2 separate regions of the Homo sapiens genome follow, and region 1 is linked to region 2. The links are contacts of gene promoters, found by promoter capture Hi-C in human tissues and cell types (Jung and others, 2019). All regions are on one chromosome and are shown on one strand. The core of a region is centred on a gene start or on the middle of the fragment in contact, and the rest is flanking DNA. Distances in the headings are between cores, read along the strand shown.

Region 1 (3,915 bases), core at 1,083-3,582, 710 kb after region 2:
CCATAAGAGAATTCATGGCTTGTTTGCTCATTTTTGCTTTGGTTTTCTAGACAGCTAAGAAGGAAATAAAGCAGTGCTTCTTAAACTTTATTGTGTACTAGAATCACCTGGAAGGTTTGTTAAATCGCAGATTCTGCATCCTGGCCCTGCAGTTGTTGGTTCAGGAACACTGGGGTTGGGCCTGAGAATTTGCATTTCTGTCACATTCCCGGGTGATGCTGATGCAGCTGCTTCAGGAACCACACTTTGAGAACCACTAAGATGAACTCCCTCGAGGCATTGTGATGTGACATAGAGCAGGGGGCATTTTAGTCATAAGGTGATGGGTTTGAGTCCTGGGGCTGTCCTTATTAGCAGAGCTCTTTTAAGCAAATAATCTCTGTGAGACTGGGTTTCTTCCATTTTCAATTAGAAATAATAAAATTCACCTCATGAAGGCTCTTGTAAGAGTTAAATGTTTGTAAATCACTTTGTTCATGTATTAGTTTTAAAAGATTTCATTAATCTTTGATTGTAAGATTATTTTGTAAGTCATGTAATATTTCCGAATGATTTGGGCAACCAAGTCTATCAAATGAATAATGCCATTCGTTTAAATAATGGAAGCAGTTTTAAATATTTCACTAAAATTCCACTTCAGAATTCCCAAGCCCTTTTTCAAGTTGGGGTGTGTGTGTGCGTACTTTCTTCCCCCCTTGTAATTAAACAAGTTATTCCTCCCCCATTTAATTCTTGCTAAGTACTAAATTGCATAATAAATTGGGAATTTCCTCCTTCTCTAATTCTGTGCATTGGCATTTTAGCATATTTTGATGTGTAGGTGGTAAAGGCCAGTGAAAAGTTCACAGCTGGAGTGCAAACCCTGAGTTTTCATGATGCATGAACAACTGGGATCTGACCACAATTTTGTCTTTTTATATTTAGAATCAGCCACGTCAATATCTGCATGGCACAGAATCACCTGGGAGCTTCTTACACATGTAGAATTTAGCACCCCATCTCTAAAACATATGATTCAGTATATAGAAGGTGTGTCCTGGTCATATACATTTAAAGTATCACTCCAGGTGGTACAGAGACTGCACTTCATGAAACACCAGGAATGGTCTGGAATAGTCTAGTTTGCTTTTAAATTCAGCCTCTGCCTGCAACTAGCTGTGTAGACTTGATCAAATTCTCTGGTCTTCTTAAATCTTGGTGCTGTTTATGTGAAATTGCTCACTCTCATTTATTGGGGCTGTTATGCAGATTATAATTAACATATATAAAGTGCTTAGCATGTAAAGTGTGCTGGGCATGAAGCATTCAAACAATCTAACATTGGGGTAGTTCTTTTACAATGCCAGACACTGGAAGGTGGACAGGTAAGATCAACACAAAAGTTCCTAGATGGATAGAAGTGAAATGAAGCCAGTTGGCTCTGTGAATCCATAAAATATTTATCAAGCCTTGGAGAAAGAGAATTCATCAAAAATTATATTAAAGTGACTAATTTATTTTCTTTCTTTCTTTCTTTCTTTTTTTTTGTGAGACACGGTCTCACTCTGTCACCTAGACTACAGTGCAGTGACACAATCACAGCTCACTGCAGCCTTGACCTTCTGCGCTCAAGTGGTCCTCCCACCTCAGCCTCCCAAGTAGCTGGGACCACACCTGCACACCACCACACCTGGTAATTTTTTAATATTTTGTAGAGACAGGGTCTTACTGTGTTGCCCAGGCTGGCCCTGAACTCCTGGGCTCAAATGATCCTCTGTCTTTGGCCCCCGAAAGACCTGGGAGTACAAGAGTGAGCCACCATGTCCAGACTAAAGTGACTGGTTTGTTACAGGTATCTTCAGGTCAGGAACATTCACAACTAGTTTCTAACTTGCAATTATTTTCTAGGTTCTAAAGTTCTTATTTTAGATGCTATAAGATTAAACAGTGTTTGAGTGTATTGAAATCAATTATTCAGTCTAATCTAATGAATCAGCAGACTATCATATTTTACTGTGCCAGAACACTAATTTTCCATTCACTTTAATGTGACAGATAATGTCCTTTCATGAAAATATTAAACCCTTCAAGAGAGCCAAAATGAACCCATATTAATACAAGACAACAGAGCCAATACTATTCAGTAACAGGATAGAAAAATGCTGTTTAAAAGGAAATATTATTACTGTAAAGACAGATTTTTATTCAAGAAGTTAGGAACTACCACATAAATCTACGTTTACTTTGATTTTTCTCAACATCTTTGTGGCTGTCCTTCTTTAGTCTCATAAGCAATTTTAAAATATTTTTTCTATATTATGGTCTTTCCCAGCTTACTGACATGCTTCTAATTTACATGCTTAAAATTAGTAGTGTGGCATTTTTTACTTCCTTGCAATTCCTGAAGATCTATGATGTCAGTAGAGCTTTTAGAAGGTCTTCTAATTGCACATTCATTAAACAAAGCTTAAGAACAGACAGTCCTAAGGGGGTTTTCATTTATGGATCATTTAGTCTGGGATTCCCCAAGGACAATGGTCAACATTAATTAAAACATCTTGAAGTCTGTAAACCACAGTTACTTCTGTGCGAGATGCCATGATGAGCTTTGAATTATCACTTGAAAAATAAGAAGATTTAGGAAATTTCAGCTTTCTTGTTGCTCTCCTGCAAATGCTACTTTAAAACAAATTTTCTTCAGTGTCACCAAGATTAACACAACTTACTGCTCTAGAGAACCAATGTTTTATATTTGTAATTTGTTACACAAAAGAAAAAGAGGACTCCTGAGATATGGGGTAGATATCATATTCCCTGTGTCTGGGGGGTAGACCATCACTTCAACTGTAACTGCCAGATGGGTTCTTCCTGCTCACTGTGCAGACAAAATCAGTCCACTGAGACCATCACATTGCAGTAAAGAAAAAGTTTAATTGATGCCAGGCTAGCCACACCATGTGGGAGACAGAGTTATTACTCAAATCAATTTCCCTGAAGGCTCAAAAGTTAGGGGTTTTTCAAGGTTAAAATGGAGGGCAGGGGGCTAGGGAAGGGGCATGCTGATTGGTTGGAGATGTAATTATAGGGGTATAGAAAACAGTCCTTGTAGGCTGAGTCTGCTTCTAAGTGGGGGCCACCAAAGGAGTTGCTGGTCTGGGTGGGGCTGTCCAGTAGTCAGAAATGCAAAAGCCTAAAAGACTTCTCAAAAGGCCAACTGTAGGTTCTATAATAGTGATGCTATCTGCAAGAGTAATTGGGGAGGTTGCAAATATTGTGACCTCCAGAATAATGGCAGGTAATTATGTAACTATGCCTGCATCTTAGTAAAATTCAGGCCCCTCTCATCCTCCTAACTTGGTAGACTTCCATTAATTTTACAAGGGTAGTTTAGCTTTTGGGAAGAGCTAGTATCATTTAAACTATAAACTAAATTCCTCCTGAAGTTAGTTTGCCCCACACCCAGGAATGAGCAAAGACAGCCAGCCTGTGAGGCTAGAAGCAAGATGGAGTCAACCATGTCAGATTTCTCTTACTGTCATAATTTTCCAAAGGCAATTTCAGAGCCACTCCTGAAGTGGTAGGAAGGTGTGCGAATTATGGGTTTGTCATATGCCTCTCATATGCATGAAGGAATATGCATATGTAATACAAGAAAGATGTCATTTTGAACCAATGGGACTTTCAAGTATTTCCTTCTAGGTTGGACACCGAGGAACAGTAAGAGATTATCCAGACTTTAGCCCATCAGTGGATGCTGAAGCTATTCAGAAAGCAATCAGAGGAATTGGTGAGTGATATTTTACAATTCCTTTCTTAATGTTGAAGCAAATCAGGCAAGTTACAATCTAAAAGTTCAGTTTGCTCAGATTGGCTTACTCAATTTAATAAATTGTCAGGAATTTTCTAAAATTGTGAAATAACGAGGAAATATATAGA
Region 2 (4,012 bases), core at 842-3,341:
AATATAGGATGTTTAAACTCTCTTGTTAGAACAGTAGACATAAAAAAGTCCATAAATGGGGCCTGCCGTGTTGGTTCACACCTGTAATCCCAGCACTTTGGGATTGCTTGAAGCCAGGAGTTTGAGACCAGCCTGGGCAAAAAAGAAAGACACCCCACACTCCCCGCTGTCTATAAAGAAAAATAAAAATAAGTTAGCCAGGTGTGGTGGTGTGTGCCTGTAGTCCCAGCCCCTTGGGAGGCTGAGACATGAGGATCACTTGAGCCCAGCAGGTGAAGGCTGCAATGAGCTATGATCTTGTCACTGCACTCCAGCTTGGGTGTCAGAGTGAGATCCTGTCTTGAGAGGGGGAAAAAAAAGTCCACAGATGGGGGCCAACTGACCCCAGCTGTGGACTGTGGAAAGGAAACAGATATAGGGTCTAAGGACCAGCACCTCTAATCTGAGTGTTTGTTTTTCTCTGAAATTGACTGGGTAAACTTGCTCCAATTCTGGTACTTACTCTCAAATTGAATTAGTTTTTTTCATTTATGCATAGCCAAGTACACTGCTTGACACATGGCAGGCACTCATATATTTGTGAAAAGAAGGGAGGATGAGAGGGAGCGAGGGAGAGAAGGAAAAGTTTACAAAGATAGATTTAAGTTCTTCGATTTTTTTGCATAAGTCACAAATTGTTATAGAATCTTTGAAGTAACTGCTTAGGTGTTAACAAGACAAGGCAATACATTAGAAATCTTATTTTTTCATGTAGATGAGTACTATGTATAAATATGAATAAAGCATCTGGGAAATGCCTTTGATCCAGTTCATCTGCCTGTGGGCAGCTTCATTGAAGCAAGTTAATTTTGCAGGCTTGCCATTCTAATTGAGTCACTAATTCATGTATGCATATATTCATTTATTCAGCAAACATTTACTGAGAGCCTCCTATGGGCCTGGCACTGAAGTATGTGCTGAGGTTACAAAAATGAGTAAGATGGTTTCTACCCATAAAAAGCTCAGACTGGTGACAAGAACTGATATATTGTGGTGATGGCTGCACAACTCTTTGAGTACACTAAAAACCATTTAATTGTACAATTTAAATTGGTAGATTGTATGCTATGTAAATTATATCTCAAAACTGTTTAAAAGAAACACAGCCTGAGGCGAAATCTTTAAAAAGTTACCTAGGTGATGTAGGGTACGGTACACACGAAGCAGAGAAGATAGAATGAACCAAGTTATGGAGGTGAGAAACGTGTGTGTGTGTGTGTGTGTGTGTGTGTGTGTGTGTGTGTTGTGGGGGAGGTAAGCTGGGAAGTGATAAAATCCGTAATCAGATTTGTTTTAGATAAACCACACCGACAGCTGTGACGTAATGGAAAGTACACTCATTCTGTTTTGTTTTTGTTTTTTTTTCCTATCAGAATAACTTGTGCGTGGGTCTTGGAGCTGCCATTTTAAAACTAGAAATGTTTTATAAATGTCAAGTATTATTATTCAATTGATCCTAATGGTAAGTCTACTCGCTTGCCAGCAGGGGGTAAATGTAGAGATTAATTTAAGATTTTAAAGCTAAGGTTGATCTTGCGCTGACAGAAAGTTTGACAATTAGCAAAAAAAGTTTGTCAGTGAGTTGGACACCTCCCTCGGGTAGCGGCGAAAACGCCTAGAGAATTTTTAAAATAAGTCTTTCCAAGGCCGGAAAAGTGGCGGAGGAAGCTAGTGGGTTTCAGGGTTCCTGTTTTTCAAGATTTTACGTTGGGTATTAAGTACTCTCACAGCCTGTTAAAATTGTCGCTCTGAGTACACTTGCAGGATCAAAAAAGAAAAAGAATAAGAAGGAAGGATTAAAATAATCACAGCATCGCCAACAGGATCGTATTTTCCCGAAGGTGGTTAACCAGCCATACCGGAACCACGAAACACACAGGGTCCTGGGCAACACGGAGGACTAACAGTAACACCGCCACGCCGGCAGCAAAGCTCATTTTGGTCCCCGCCCCGTTCCTCTTTCTCTTTTTAACTCCTTCCCTCTTTGCGGATTCTAGAACGGAACCTTTTTTTAATTCTTCCCAGTAGAAACGTAGGAACAATTTCGTGAACGCAATCCGGAGTGCCCAACATGGCGGCGGCCGTAAGGTGCATGGGTAGAGGTAAGGCGAGGGGTTGTCTTGCAGGGGAAATGGCTCTGGCACCGAGTCTCTGGTTGCAGCAGAGTGCAAGGCGGATTCTGCTCTGGGTGCTGAAAATGCCTCGTGCTGTTTCTGGTCTCTAGGTTTTTCAGAGGGTGGGTCATTACTACTTAAAAGTGACCTTATGAAGGGTTTCACTCCATTCTGGAGACGTCCACCCTGAGGGAGGGAGTGGGAGCGGGACGTACATCGAGCGCCCTCCAGCCACCTATGGGCATGGCAAGGACTGGGTCGTCTCTGATACTGGGGTGTGGGCTGCGGGTAGTGGAGTGTGATAAGTGAGGTGAGTTCTGATAAGGGAAAGATGATGTATTTGAGTGGCTTAAGTCTGTAAATTAGAGCAATTTTCAAAGTGCTTTTTGGTGCTTTCGGAATTACTTCGTTATAGGCGATTCCAGTTCTTAAACTTCCATAGGTGGTCTAATTTGGATCAACGTTTATCATTTGAGGGGGCTAATTCTGTAGTACCTCTTGGTAGCGCCTCTTTTCATCTTAATAATTTCAACTTTTTGTCTACGATGACAGCCCTTTCTTGTGCAACAATTTTTTTTTTTTTTTTTTTTTGAGACGGCAGTCTCGCTCTGCCACCCAGGCTGGGAGTGCTGTGGTGCGATCTCAGCTCACTGCAACCTCCGTCTCCCAGGTTCAAGCGATTCTCCTGCCTCGGCCTCCCGAGTAGCAGAGACTACAGGCGTGTGCCACCATGCCTGGCTAATTTTTGTATTTGTAGTAGAGACAGGGTTTCACCATGTTGACCAGGCTAGTCTTGCACTCCTAATCGCAGGTGATCCGCCCTCCTCGGCCTCTCAAAGTGCTGGGATTACAGGCGTGAGGCACTGCGCCCGGCCTGTGCAACGCTTTTTGCTTTTATTTTGTGTTTTTGAAGTCCAGTGATATATATTGTTTAATTTAGGTAGGTCTTTAGGTAGAAGCAGTAGCCAGCATTACCCCCATTTTACAGAGGAAGAAACTGAACTTATTAGATATGTGGCCAAGTTCATATAACTAGTAAATGGCAGAGGAAGTACTGAAGCTTGCAATCCTAGGTCAGTGATACATGTATATTTAACACTGCATCACAGTTTTTTTTTTTTTTTTTTTGAGTTTCTTTTTAGGAAAACTGTGTCAAGAGAGTTATTGCTCAAAAATTAGGGGTGACAAGAGATAACAACAGACCCTGATGCCTACTTTGTGAGCAAACCAAAATGTATATTATTTCTGAAAGGAGGTTGAAGGCATCTTCATGTATGACAGAAATCGTTATGTTACACAAATCCAAAGAAACCAAAAATACCTGAATATTATAATTTTCTTGTCACATTTTCTTCTCTTGGCTTCTAGGATATCTCTCTGTTAATTGTCTTCCTATTTCATGTGTCATTTTTTCTCACATTACTTGGCTGGTTCCTCTTCCTCTCCCCAGCCTCTTTACTTTGGAGTGTTCTGGAAGCCAGGGTTCCATCCTTCATTCTCATCTCTTCTGTATCTAAATTCACTCCTTGGTTAGCTCATCCAAAGTTTGTGGCTTTGATTATTGTCTATCTTTTTTATTTTTTTAATTGTTTACTTATCAGGAGAAACTTTCACATTTCATAGTTCAAGAACACAGGTCAGTGACAAACTTTTAGGTAATTCAACCCAAAGAAATTCTTTATATTGCAAAATCACTTTGTGCTCTGAAATATACGTTTTCCTCATCTCCTCAAAATCTTTTATGGAATCATCATTTCTGTAGGAGTCGACACATGCCTTCTTTCTTGGCTCAGCCACCGCGAACATAGCGAAAACCCCCAGGGATACAATGAATGCTTCAACAATATGAAATTGCAAAT

Evidence for each region. Contacts are between HindIII fragments. The study calls those that stand out against the background at their distance.
Region 1: a contact is called between a fragment that was not itself captured here and the fragment with the promoter of MRPL1 in region 2, in 2 of the 25 tissues and cell types used here (H1 embryonic stem cells and spleen).

What each region holds. Positions count from the first base shown.
Region 1 is chr4:78,569,502-78,573,416 of GRCh38, forward strand. It overlaps ANXA3 (annexin A3), which reads left to right. Exons shown (of 13, transcript NM_005139.3): 3 at 3,679-3,766. Among named protein-coding and RNA genes, the nearest start is that of ANXA3, 20 kb to the left of the region's middle. The HindIII fragment of the contact is 5,917 bases long and covers 1-3,915 here.
Region 2 is chr4:77,860,739-77,864,750 of GRCh38, forward strand. It overlaps MRPL1 (mitochondrial ribosomal protein L1), which reads left to right and starts at 2,092. Exons shown (of 9, transcript NM_020236.4): 1 at 2,092-2,141. The coding sequence starts at 2,111. RefSeq lists a silencer at 80-295 and enhancers at 1,780-2,179, 2,540-2,639. The HindIII fragment of the contact is 8,859 bases long and covers 1-4,012 here.